3 separate regions of the Homo sapiens genome follow, and regions 1 and 3 are each linked to region 2. The links are contacts of gene promoters, found by promoter capture Hi-C in blood cells and fetal thymus (Javierre and others, 2016). All regions are on one chromosome and are shown on one strand. The core of a region is centred on a gene start or on the middle of the fragment in contact, and the rest is flanking DNA. Distances in the headings are between cores, read along the strand shown. Region 1 overlaps WDR25 (WD repeat domain 25). Region 2 holds the start of DLK1 (delta like non-canonical Notch ligand 1). Region 3 has its middle 98 kb from the start of LINC02285.

The links. Contacts are between HindIII fragments. The CHiCAGO score rates a contact against its expected background, and 5 or more counts as called.
Region 1: a contact is called between a fragment that was not itself captured here and the fragment with the promoter of DLK1 in region 2, in 1 of 17 cell types (megakaryocytes). The highest score is 6.8, in megakaryocytes.
Region 3: a contact is called between a fragment that was not itself captured here and the fragment with the promoter of DLK1 in region 2, in 1 of 17 cell types (M0 macrophages). The highest score is 5.4, in M0 macrophages.

Annotation. Positions count from the first base shown.
Region 1 is chr14:100,383,415-100,387,432 of GRCh38, reverse strand. The region is part of intron 2 of WDR25 (WD repeat domain 25); the gene reads right to left. Among named protein-coding and RNA genes, the nearest start is that of WDR25, 8.9 kb to the right of the region's middle. RefSeq lists an enhancer at 3,933-4,018. The HindIII fragment of the contact is 197 bases long and covers 2,072-2,268 here.
Region 2 is chr14:100,724,507-100,728,508 of GRCh38, reverse strand. It overlaps DLK1 (delta like non-canonical Notch ligand 1), which reads right to left and starts at 1,617. Exons shown (of 5, transcript NM_003836.7): 1 at 1,374-1,617; 2 at 50-113. The coding sequence starts at 1,440. The HindIII fragment of the contact is 10,517 bases long and covers 1-4,002 here.
Region 3 is chr14:101,216,547-101,220,618 of GRCh38, reverse strand. It overlaps the pseudogene LOC100128373. Among named protein-coding and RNA genes, the nearest start is that of LINC02285, 98 kb to the right of the region's middle. The HindIII fragment of the contact is 3,208 bases long and covers 1,031-4,072 here.

The sequences.
Region 1 (4,018 bases), core at 921-3,420, 340 kb after region 2:
AAGGGAGTGCATGAATGGCTTGGCACAGACAATCCTCAAACTCTTTAGATTCTAAAAGTATTTATCTCAAGAACACTGAGATTGAAACGCTTTAAAAACGTGTGCATAGAGACAATGAAAAGATTCACAAAAAACAAGAGTTACAGTAAGTTGGAGGATTCTGGGTGATTTGTCTTTTCTACACTTTGTTTTATAACTAATCAAGACAGGTACAGGGGAATCAGAAACATGCTTCCTCAGCCTCTCCCTTGTCAGGCACTAGGCTGGATCTTCTCATTTCAGCTCTACAGCAACAACCTTAATTGGTGGCCATTTACCAATTATCCCCATTTTACCAGTGAGGAACTAGGGGATCAGAGAGGCTAAGTGATTTTCCCAAAGTCACACAGCTACCAAGCAGAAGATTTGGCATGGGAGCCAAGGAGTACAACAGTGGTACTGAAGGTTTGCCAATCTAATCAGGTCCCACTCTCACCACACACAAGGGCTTTAGCTAATGCCTGGGTGTAAATCAAAGCCCATCTTTTTCTTTTTTTTTCTGAGATGGAGTCTCGCTCTTTCACCCAGGCTGGAGTGCAGTGGTGCGATCTGGGCTCACTGCAAGCTCCGCCTCCTGGGTTCATGCCATTCTCCTGCCTCAGCCTCCCGAGCAGCTGGGACTACAGCCGCCCACCACCGCGCCCGGCTAATTTTTTGTATTTTTAGTAGAGACGGGGTTTCACCATGTTAGCCAAGATGGTCTCAATCTCCTGACCTCGTGATCCGCCTGCCTCGGCCTCCCAAAGTGCTGGGATTACAGGCATGAGCCACCGCGCCTGGCCTCAAAGCCCATCTTAACTGCATTAAGGCAGCAAAAAAAGACAATATTTATGTATAGCCATATTCACTGTAATACTGATTATTTTTTAAACAAAAGCAGGAAATTATAGGAAACAACATGGAAATGATGGAGCAAAGTATGAAACTTGAGACAGTTATAAAAATATATTTGGGGAAAAGTTTTTAATAAGGTAGAAAAATTCCCCTTACACGTTACAGAAGATTGGGCAGCAGAGGAAGAATTCAAAACTGCACATACTATGCAATAAGCCCAATTATGTAAACAGATAGGAATGTAGGGCCCCCGACCAGGGAGGCCCCTCATGTTAATGAGGCACTGACTTGGGGTTGGGAGTTATCAATGATTTCTGTTTCTCCTTCATACTTCATATTTCCTGCATCATTAAAGTTTTTCACAATAAGCATCTATTACATTCATGGTCAAAAATTAAAAGGTTTTTTTTCAAAGTATTTTAAGGAAGCTTGTTACTGAAAGAATTTCTAGAGCAAATTATTCTGTAAAGCAAATAAACAACATCTAATTCATATATTTTCTTTAAAAACCTTCTGTGTTTCAGAACTGCAGGTTTTCATACAGGTACAGAAGGTCCCTGGTGGGTCTTCTGTCACCCACCCAAAGGTCTTATTCCTTTGGGACTCCCTCTCAGTGCCTGGCAGAGGGTTCTGTACATGGGAGCATTCAATAACGGCTGGTTGTGTTTTTGGTTAACGCAGGCCACGTACATGTTTTCCTTCAAAAAAAGGCATCAAAGTCTGAATTTCTACCTTTACGTGCAGTGGGTGTTCAAACACGTTAAGCCAAAAGAGTTCACTGGGAGATGAAAAGAGTATATAAAAGGGTATCCGTGCTGGGATCACAGCTATGAAAAAAACAAGCACGTTCACAGACAAGGGGAGGAAGGGATCGTCAGGAAAGAGCAGCGGTGCAGAATTATGAGTCATTGTTTTATTTTACTTAATTTCTCTAGCTGTAAATTTTTCAAAACTAATAAAAGCATATTTTACAGCTCACAGAACATTTAGAACATATTAAAATAAGTATCTTTCCACTGTAATGTGTCCAGTTGAAATGTATGAATTCCGAAGCTACGTTTTAAGGATATGAAGGAACTGGCACTCCATGTTCTTTAGATTAATAAGTTGGACTGTGTTGTTTTTCTCCTGATCAGAAAGAAATCATTTTTCAGTAAATGTTACCTTGAATCAAGGATTCTTCCACATTCTAGAAGCTTGGATGAGCTGCTTATATTAAGTCTTACTGTGCACCCTAGTGGCGAATATGATTTATCCACTCAAAAGACAATCCCTTCCCAAAGGCTTGCGATAAAATCCAAAAAATTTGTTTTAATTTTTATCGATCACTTAACATGTACACAATTTTGTGCCAGATGCTGGGGAATATAAAAATGGGTTCTGGCTCAGGAAGCTTAAAGTCTAGTAGGTGAAGCTGATATGCTTCCATGGCTACTTACGTAAAATAAGACATGAGCACAAGTCAAGGAAAGGAGGAAATTCTTGGGGAAAAGCAGGAACTCGAGCACACACTAAGTGCCTGCTATGTGCCAGGCATTGCACTTGGTGATTCACAACTAATATCGTTTACTTTTCACAAAAACCCAGCGAGGCATGTTTAATTCTCTCCACTTTATAGATACTCAAATGAAGGCTCAGAAGTGAGGTAACTTGCCAGAGACCACGCAACCAAGGGGCTGGCCGTAGAGGAAGGACCCAAGCAGGTCTTGTCACCCAGCCCCCAAGCTCTTCCCTCCTTCCTGATCCAGCAGGGGCCCAGAAGACACTGGCAGATTTTAACCAAAAGGCAGGGGGAAAGCACCCTGGGAAGGGTGTACTGCTGCACCCGCCTCTTTGAGCTCATTCCATGCTGCACCCACCATTTCCTCTCCTCCAGGGACTGGGCTGCAGCCAGCCAGGACTCCTGCCTGTGCCCGAGGCCCTATCCCCACTCCAGACCCACCACCCACACCCACACACTGCCTTCCCCAGATCACCAGGTCCCCAAGATCTGCCATGCTGCCCCACCTCTGACACCAAGGAGGGAAAAGAACACCATGTGCCTCCCAGCCAGGCCACGCACAAACCTGGTGGCCCAGCAAGCCTGAGGCCTCAGCCGGGACTTCTGGCCACAGCTCCTGCCTGGCTCCCCGCCGGTTCCCAATCTGTCTTCCCATCCTGGCTCCTCCAGCCCCTGCCATACACTCTTCACACTGAAAAGTTGTTCAAAGTCAATTTGCCCAAAACCAATTTGCCAAATAACCCCATCACTGAAAACTGACAAATATCTTAAAACAGAGAGGGCCCTGGCCCACCATTTGTATCTATGGCTTATAAAAGCCCTAATGTTCACGACACCACAGTAAAAAAAGAGGGTCAGGAGATGCCAACCCTAGCAGCCATGCTGACCCTGGCCCAACCTCATGACAGCAAATGTGCTCTGCCCTGGGAAGGAACCCAGGGTGCACAGTGCAGTGGGTGGGGCTCCCCAGAAGCTGCCTGGCAGCCCAAGGGGCCCATGCCAGTGTCATCACCTGCAGCACACACAGTCTCCTCGGGACAGGCGGGCACAGCTGCGGCGCCTGGCCCCACCCAGGGCAGCCCCACAGACCCGGACCCAGGTCTCTGAATCGCCCAGGAGCAGGGCATTCCTACCACAGTCCCTCAGTCTGAGCCACCCTCACTGCCATTCCAAGCTGGGCCCACTGCGCCCTCTTCTGGTCATGAGGTGTCACAGTTAGTTGGCTGCTCACAGTTTCCCCTCCATGGGGGCAGAAACGTCTCTCCCCCCACGTCCCCAGTGGCACCGTGCCTGGCACATTTGTCTACTCCACAAGGCCAGAAATCAATGCCTCTACTCAGGTGCTCTCTGCTCAAAAACTACCATGGGGATGCTTCTGTTTAGGAAATCTAAATTTCCCAGGCAAAAGTGACCCAAGCTGCCACTCTGCCAGCAGGGCCCAGGGAGCACTTCACGCCACCAGGCGAAGGCCAGTCCCACAGGGCCCCAGGTCTGCCCCTCACCATCAGGAGAGAGAACTCCAGAGGTGAGCGGGCAGGTAAAAGAAGGCCTCAACAGGAAGGTGAGCACAGGGAGGACAAGGGCCACCACTTGAACTCCAGGGCCAGTCAGACACTGCCCAGGCCCACCAGCAACCCTCCAGAT
Region 2 (4,002 bases), core at 368-2,867:
GGCTTCTGCGTGGCCCCTACAAGCTGCCTCTGAGGAGCCACTCTATTACCTGCAAACATTGTCATCCTCGCAGAATCCATTTTGGGGGTTGCAGGCCGGGAAGCATTCAGCCCCTGAGGTACAAGAAAGGTTATACAATTCACCCCACCAGGCCCCAGGCCAAGGCAAAGGCTGTCTTCGCCCACACAGCCCACCACTGCCCTCGAGGGCACCAACAGCCCTCTTGGGTCCTACCAGCCTGGCACACAGTAGGCACTTCCTATCCGAGCATGGATGGGGCTCAGTGCACTCAGGAAAAACATCTCTGCCACGTTCCCAGCAATGAAATGACCACAGTACACTCTCCCTCGTTCTTAGGAGCAGGAGAAACACCTTCTCCTCGGACTCCCAAAAGCAAATACGACACCTCAAGTCCTCCTAACAGCGGGGACGGGGACCGTGGAGGGAAATATGTTGAGCCCTGGGCATGCAGCCTGACCGTCACTTTTGCAACCTGAGCTGAAAAGAGGAGCAGATTTTGAGGTGTTCAACTCCGGGAAAGCCCAGACAGGTTCACCTGGTGGGCGCCCCAGTAAGGCGTCTGCATTCTTTTTAAGGTTCATCCCTATTAAGCCGGGCACCCAGGTCAAATCTTCCCTCTTTCCCCTACCCCAGACTCTTCGCATTAAAAAAACGATGACGACACAGGGTTTTGCTTAGCGGGCTGAGGTTGCAACAACACTGCTTAGAGATTCTGACACTTTAACAGGCACCTACTGTGTGCATTTACTCAACCAGCTCCCCAGCTTTCTAGACAGCCCCCTTACAACCACTGGTGCAATGAGTGGGGGGGCGCTGCAGGAAGGGGGCAACTCTCTCGCTGTCAGAGACAGATGGCCGCTGCAGACAGAAGTGTCGCAGCCCCTCACCTACAGAAACGCGCCACGCAGGAAGGGCTCAGGCTGGGCTTCTCTGGGAATTGGGGGCTAAGACGGCAAAGTCGTCCCCCACTCCCGCCCCGAGACCTGTTCCAGAACGCTCACACAGGGACACCCCAAAGTTGCACCCCAGAGTATTTTCATAGAAGACTCCACAACAGCACCCCATTTTTCCATACCTCCTTGCTCAGCGCACCGACACCCCTCTGGCGCCACTTCTGCAGGGCGGGAAGGGGCTGGGGGTCTCACACATCCCCTGCGCCCTGGGACCCCTGGGACGGGCCTTGGCATGCGAGCGTGGTGGGTAGGGCGAGACAGGCACAGCGCGGGGCTTAGGGCTAGGCGGGACGGGCGGAGTTGGGGCTCACGAGACGGGGCGTGCGGGGCACCGGGCGGCCGGCGGGGAGTCGCAGGCTTCCCCAGAGGGGGCGCGAGCCGGGCCGCCGGGGAACTCACCATAGGTGCTGTGGCCGAAAGCCAGCAGGAGCAAGAGGACGCGCAGGAGGGCTTCGGTCGCGGTCATCTCTGGGCGGCCGGGGTCGCGGTCCCGGGAGCGGTGCGGGCGCGGGTCCGGCTCCTGGCGCCGCACTGGGCTTCTGGTTGCGGACGCGAAAGGGGGCGCGGGCGCGCAGCGAGGGGAAAGCCAGGGCTGCACCGGGCTGCGCGCTGCGCTCTCCACCGCCGCTGCCGGGGAGCTGCCGCCGCCGCCGCGCGCGCCGCCCTTTTCGTACCGCCTCCCCCCTCGCGGCCCCCGCCCCCCGCCCCCGCCTCCGTGCGCACGGGGCCGGCGCCGGCCAGTCCCTGTGACCCCCTCCCCTCGCAGGGCCGCCCCCGACCACGGCGGCGTCCCAGAAGCCCGCTCGCGCACACGGGTGCACTCTTGGCTAGACGGGCACAGGTATCCCGCGAGCGTTTGGTACACGTTCCCTCACACTGTACAGCACGCGGCCGCCGCGCACATACAGGCCTGCCTAGGACAAGTCGCAGGAATCGAACCTGGGCCGCAGACCTCCCCGGAGAGCACAAATCCGCACGCAGGAACACCGAAACACTTATCGCTGAAGTCCCGGGCACACGTGCAATGGTTAGATACCCAGGAAAACACAAAGGCGCACTATGAAGATGTGAACTAAGCACATAATTACACACGCACACAGAAAAACCCCCAGGAAAAGCCCGACGCCCCCTGTACCCCTGGCCATGAAGACGCAGAAAAATGCAGTTGCCCCGTGGCAACCCACACCCCGCAACGGAAACGCACACGGCAACTCAAACACACTGTAGCCCAGACGCCGTATAGACACAGTCCTAGGTGGCAGAGGGTCAAGCGGACCTGCGGTTACCCAACCATGGGCATCCTCCCCCATGTGCCGACCCCCTGCACACAGACGCTTACGCAGAGCCACCTGCACACCCAAACACGCAAACACACGTATAAACAGACGGACACCCGTGCCCGCATTCAGTCACACCCACCCCCGCACACACAGCATCTCAGTCAGGGCCTTAGCCGCGCTGAAACACAAATGCACCGACTCTTACGCACACATGTACGCACAGCCATGCACCTGATACCCACAAGCACACATACCCAGCTGACTCGTGGTCACACACACTGACAAAAACATATACGCAGTCCCCACACACACACGATCGCATCTGTCTTTGTCCACAGTGGCATGCATGGGCAGCCTCACCAATGTGCTCTCACATACACACAATAGCACTCCAGGCACTCGGCACGTATTCCAGACTCACTGGGAGACCTTCTCTGAGGGGTCGCCCGCTGGAGAGGTGGAGGTAGAGGATGCTGATTGCCAGAGACCCTCTTCCTCTGCAGAGCTCCCAGGGAGAGGGAGTGCTCCTCAGACACCCCTCCTCCCCATTGCCCCCGGCTTAGGCTTAGAGCCCTGCTGGAGAGGAAAGCTCTGCACCCCTGCACCCAGTCTGGATGGGGGAGGCTCAGAAAGATAGGGAGGGAGAGGGGTAGGAGGGGATTAAAGATATTTCACCTCCTGGGGGAAGGGTCCCAGGCGTCCCAATCTTTGGGTGGGTCGTTTAGGATACTTAATTTGCATATATTAATTTGCATACATATCCTAGATGCAGGGAGTGGGTGCCCACCCAGCTCGCGGCCTCCCCTTCTTCACAGTGCTGCAGGGGGGTGTGATCTCACCACTGTGAACCTGGAGGCTGGATGCTTTGACCTCCTGGCCCTCTAGTCCAGCCCTGGCAGGTCTGAGCACAGATTTCCCATCTTAGCCATAGATGTGGGAAGGCAGGCCCATGGGCATCCCCAGGCCCACCACCCCTAAGTCAGTGCTCCAGTAAGGCACTCGGGATGGGTACAGGGATGGACAGAGACCAGAGCTGCTCTGGGCTGGCTCCAAGGAGGCTGGAGGGAAACTCCCAGCCCCTGGTGGAAGATATCCCTTCCCTGATGTTATCTGCAGAATGCCCAGATAGGTAGGGGCTGCTGGGAACGGCTTTGGGGACAGGCTGTAGGGAGCAGTTGGGGTGCCCACTGTGTGCCTGCCACATGCCCTTGCATTCCTGTGACCCTACTTTCTTCCGTGGACTCTTTCCTCAAGTCAAGAAACCAACTTCAGTGATGGAAGGTCCTTTGCCCAAGGCCCTTGGCCTAGAACGAGAGTGTCTGGCTGACAGGCCCAACCCTGGGTGCCAATGTCCACTGCATGGTGATCGCCAAGGTCTTCCTGACCAGGGTTCCTCTCTTCCCTCCCTTCGAGGCCCCTGACTTCAGCCTCCAAAATTATCCCAACAGCAGGCAGACCTGGAAGAGCTGAGTTCTCAGCCAGAAGCCAAGGAGGGGTGGAGGATCTCAGGGCTGGGTAGCCCTGGGGCAAGGGCCTCCCAGGCTCTTGCCAAAGTCCCGCAGAGAGGAGACTCCCTGGACTGCATGGAGCACTTAGGGGGCCCCAGTGTCCCCACCCACACACATACCTAGACTCCTCCCTTCCCCATCCAGGTTCTTCCCCCTTCCCACCCCCGCCCCCAGCCCCACCACAGCCCTCCCCAGTTTAGGAAAGGGAGGGAGGCCAGAGGAGGGTATTCTCGCCCAAGG
Region 3 (4,072 bases), core at 1,385-3,884, 490 kb before region 2:
TGTCCTCGTGTCCACCCCGAGGGTCGAGCTGTCAGAGCTTGCTCTCCAGTGCAGCTCAAATGCATAGAAGTCACCTGGCTCTCGATAATCATTGGTATGGAATAAATATTTGACAGTCAGCAAATATTTGATGAACTTTTACCTCTCACTAGGAAGGATAACAGGGACTAGAATTCCCCTCCCTCCTGAAGCATCTAAAAATCTGGACAAAACATGTGAAATCAACAATTTTCAGACATGAGACATCAGACAGTTCAAGACGGTAATCCCTGAGACAAACAATGTGAGCCCTGCGATTGCGCCAGCTTGCTGTCTGGAGACAGTTTCCAGGCCATGGTGCAGGGAGGAGGACTGAGACAGAGCCAGGGTCTTTCTGAATTGAGATGGAACTGGGAGTCTGATGAGGCCGAGGCAGCTGGAGTCCACAGGACAGAAGAACGAGAGGCACAGAAAGGGAGTTTCTGAGATGTGCAGAGGGATCTCCCCCGACCCCTAGCATTCAGTAGAGGGCTGATCAGCACATGGGTGGGCAAACTGCATGGGAGGAAAGACCCACCCAGAAGCATTCGCAGCAACAGTGCCCATGCTCACGAAGGGCTGGGAGTAGTGCCTGTTCCCACCAGCCAGACTGGACAATCTCACAGCTTCTGGGCACCCAGGAGAGTACTCAGTAGGGTGTCAGCCCAGTAGTGGGGTGAAATTCACCCTAGACTAAATGATGCTCTGGTCCCACCTAACAGAACTTAAAACCAAGCCTCAAGAGGATCAAACTGTTTCTAAGTAACTTAACTGTGTCTGAAAACAGTATTTATAGGAATATAAACGTCAAGCACCTAACAAGGTAACATTTATGATGTCTGGGATTTAAGAAAAGATTACCCAGGCATGCAAAGAAACAGGAAAATATGCCCTATAATCAGGAGAAAACCCAATCAAGCAAAACTGATTCAGAAATACTAGAGATGATGGAATTAGTCAACCGGATGAGAAAACAATTATTATAATTCTAATTCTCCACGTTCAAGAAGCTTCAGGAAAGATTGAGCATGTTAAGTAGAGACATGTAATGAAAAGAGATGTAAGTCAAACTTCAAGAGCTGAAAATACAATTATCTTAGATGAAAAATATACTGGATGGGATTAACAGAAGATTAAATACCACAGAAGAAAAAAAGATTAGTTAACTTGAAGACATAATAATATAAACTATCCAAAATAAAACATATGGAAAAAACAAAAATTGAAAAAAAAATAAACAGAGAAGAAGGAAGCTATGGATAACTTCCAAAGACCCAAGGAATATGTAAACTAGAGCTTCTGGAACAGAGGAGGAGGAGAAAGAAAAAATATACATTGGAAAAAAATAAAGCAGAAAATTTTACAAATTTGATGAAAACTATACATACCAAGATCCAAGAAGTTTAATGAATCCCAAGTCCATGAAACGCGAGGAAAAGCACACCCAAGCACATCAGGGAAAATTGTAGAAAATAAAAAGCACACATTACATACAGAGGGACAAACGGAACGAGGAGAGCAGACGTCTCGTCAATAGCAATGCATGTGGGAAGACAATGGGTAAAGTCTTTATTGAAAAAAACAAATGATCAGCTTTCCATTCTATACCTAGCAAAGATATATTTCCAAAATGAAGGCAAGGCTGGGCACAGTGGCTCACACCTGTAATCCCAGCAGTTTGGGAGGCCGAGGTGAGTGGATCACTTGAGGTCTGGAGTTTGAGACCAGCCTGGCCAACATGATGAAACCCCGTCTCTACTAAAAATGCAAAAAATTAGCCGGGTGTGGTGGCAGGTGGCTTTAATCCAGGCTACTCGGGAGGCTGAAGCAGGAGAATTGCTTGAACCTGGGAGGTGGAGGTTGCACTGAGCTGAGATCGTGCCACTACACTCCATCCTGGGTGACACAGCGAGACTCTGTCAAAAAAAAAAAAAAAAAAAAAAAAAAAGGTAAAATAGACTTATTTAGCATGCAGAAGCTGAAAAGAATTTGTGAATTTGTGATCAGCAGGCCTGCACTACAAGAACTATTAAAGGAAGTCCTTCCAGCAGAAGGAAATGAATTACAAATAGATGCAGGGATATATGCAGCAGAAATAAGAGCACTGGGAATGGTGATTATGTGGATATATATTTTCCCATTATTCAAAATAGCTTTTTAAAATATAATTATGAGCCACTTGGTGCTGAAGTCACCTTAGGGACCCAGGGACATGGATCGGGGTGCTGACAGCCTTCAGCAGCTGAGGGCCCTGCATTGAAGGTCCTGGATGAAACGCACGGCCAGACCAACCGGGAAGGTGAATGCCAAGAATGGAAGTGTTTAATGATGCAGGTCATTGCGTTTCTTTGTCTGGAGTATGTTCAGAACCGTTTCTGAGCATGTCCACAAGCCAGTATGCAGATGATGATCTGATGGTGAAGAGACGACCTCAACGGGGTTCATGAAAACTAGTTCCCATGTACTGCTTGAAACAGCTGTCATCCGCAAAGCACTTTACCCAGCATGGACGCTCCACCTCTTGCCACAGCAGCACAGACAGCTAATGGCATACCTGCTTCTAGAAGACCCTTCTACCTGGAGGATCTTCCTGTGGCATCTACCTCCCTCATGAAGCAGAAGTCATCTGGCACCTGTGTGCAGTCATCTTATCGCTCTGCATTTGTGTAGGTTGGAACAGTTTCATTCAGCGTGGACTTTATCAAGACTGTGCATTTAGGCCTACAGTTCATATCCCTGATAACTATCTGGGTGGTGCCTGTCCACACTTGGTATTTGACGTTCCTCCCTTTCACACCCTCATTAATTCCATCTCTGTGAACTGGATGTGCAGAGAGATTTGCAAAGTAGAGGCGGAACCATAATTGCACTTGGGAAGTACCCATCAGTACAAAGAAACATTTCTTCAAGATTGATACAGCAAACCCCCTAAACCCAGAGGCTACAGTAGTGTGTGTGTACAGTAGTGCGTGTGTGTGTGTGTGTCCTTTTAAAAATAACGTGGTTGATGGTTTTAAGATGTGTCCCGCTTGTTTATTTGAGCAACCTAAAATAGCAGACCCACATTCCATTAGCTTTTCTCCATGGTATCCATCTGCACATCATGAAACCAGAGGGAAGAAGCTGGATGAGCTGCACAATAATTGTGTTCCTGCGATGTGTAAAGCCTGACTCAATGCCATCTTTCAGCAAGGAAGAAAAAACAGCAGCAACCTAGGAGATGCCGAATCTGTGGACCTTGGCCTGGTGAGAGCTGATCAATGGCAAGCACTGCCTATGAACATAGCAAGGTAAACACAGGCCACTGCTCCGCAGTAGAAAGGAAGCAACTATTGAGACACTCCACAGCTGGAAGAGAGCTCACGAGCATTGTGCTGGGTGAGAGCCACTAGTCTCCCAGAAACAGGGCGGTGGCTAGGGAGCATGGAAGGAAATCTTCACCATAGCCATGCGGTGACAGAGACAAGGTGGTGTGTACAGTGGTGTCCTCACCATCCTCAGCTTGTTTGGGAGGTATTTATTGGTGAGTTTCCAGGACCCTCAGGACATTCTGTGTCCTTCTGAGAACAAGGTAACACGTAAAAGCATTTTGTAAACTCTCTGTGAAAAGAAGGGGTTATGACCTCCAATGCCAGGGAATCTTCTCCCTTGAGATTCCCACGACCCTCTGGCTTGACTGCAGTGGTGAGATGGGGGTGTTGCAAGAGTTCATGGTCAGAGTCCACAGTGCTGTTGCGTGGCCCCAGGCAAATGACCGTTGGGGAAATAAGACAATCCTCCTGTCAAAAGACCCTTCTGTACCAAAATAGAAGAGAGAGAATGCAGTTTAATCTTAAGTAAGCACTGTGATATTCACATGCATGTAAGATAGCACAAAAGTGTCTCCAGAGACTGGACTTCAGAATTTCAACAGACGTGCACAGAAATGCAGAAAAGAGAAGAACGAAGCATTCTCCTATCTCCTAGACAGATAAGAGGACCCACTTGTCTATCTGTGAAAGATTTCCGAGGTCCTCTTAGGGGGTTGTGTTTACAGTTCCAAGGGTCAGGAGGC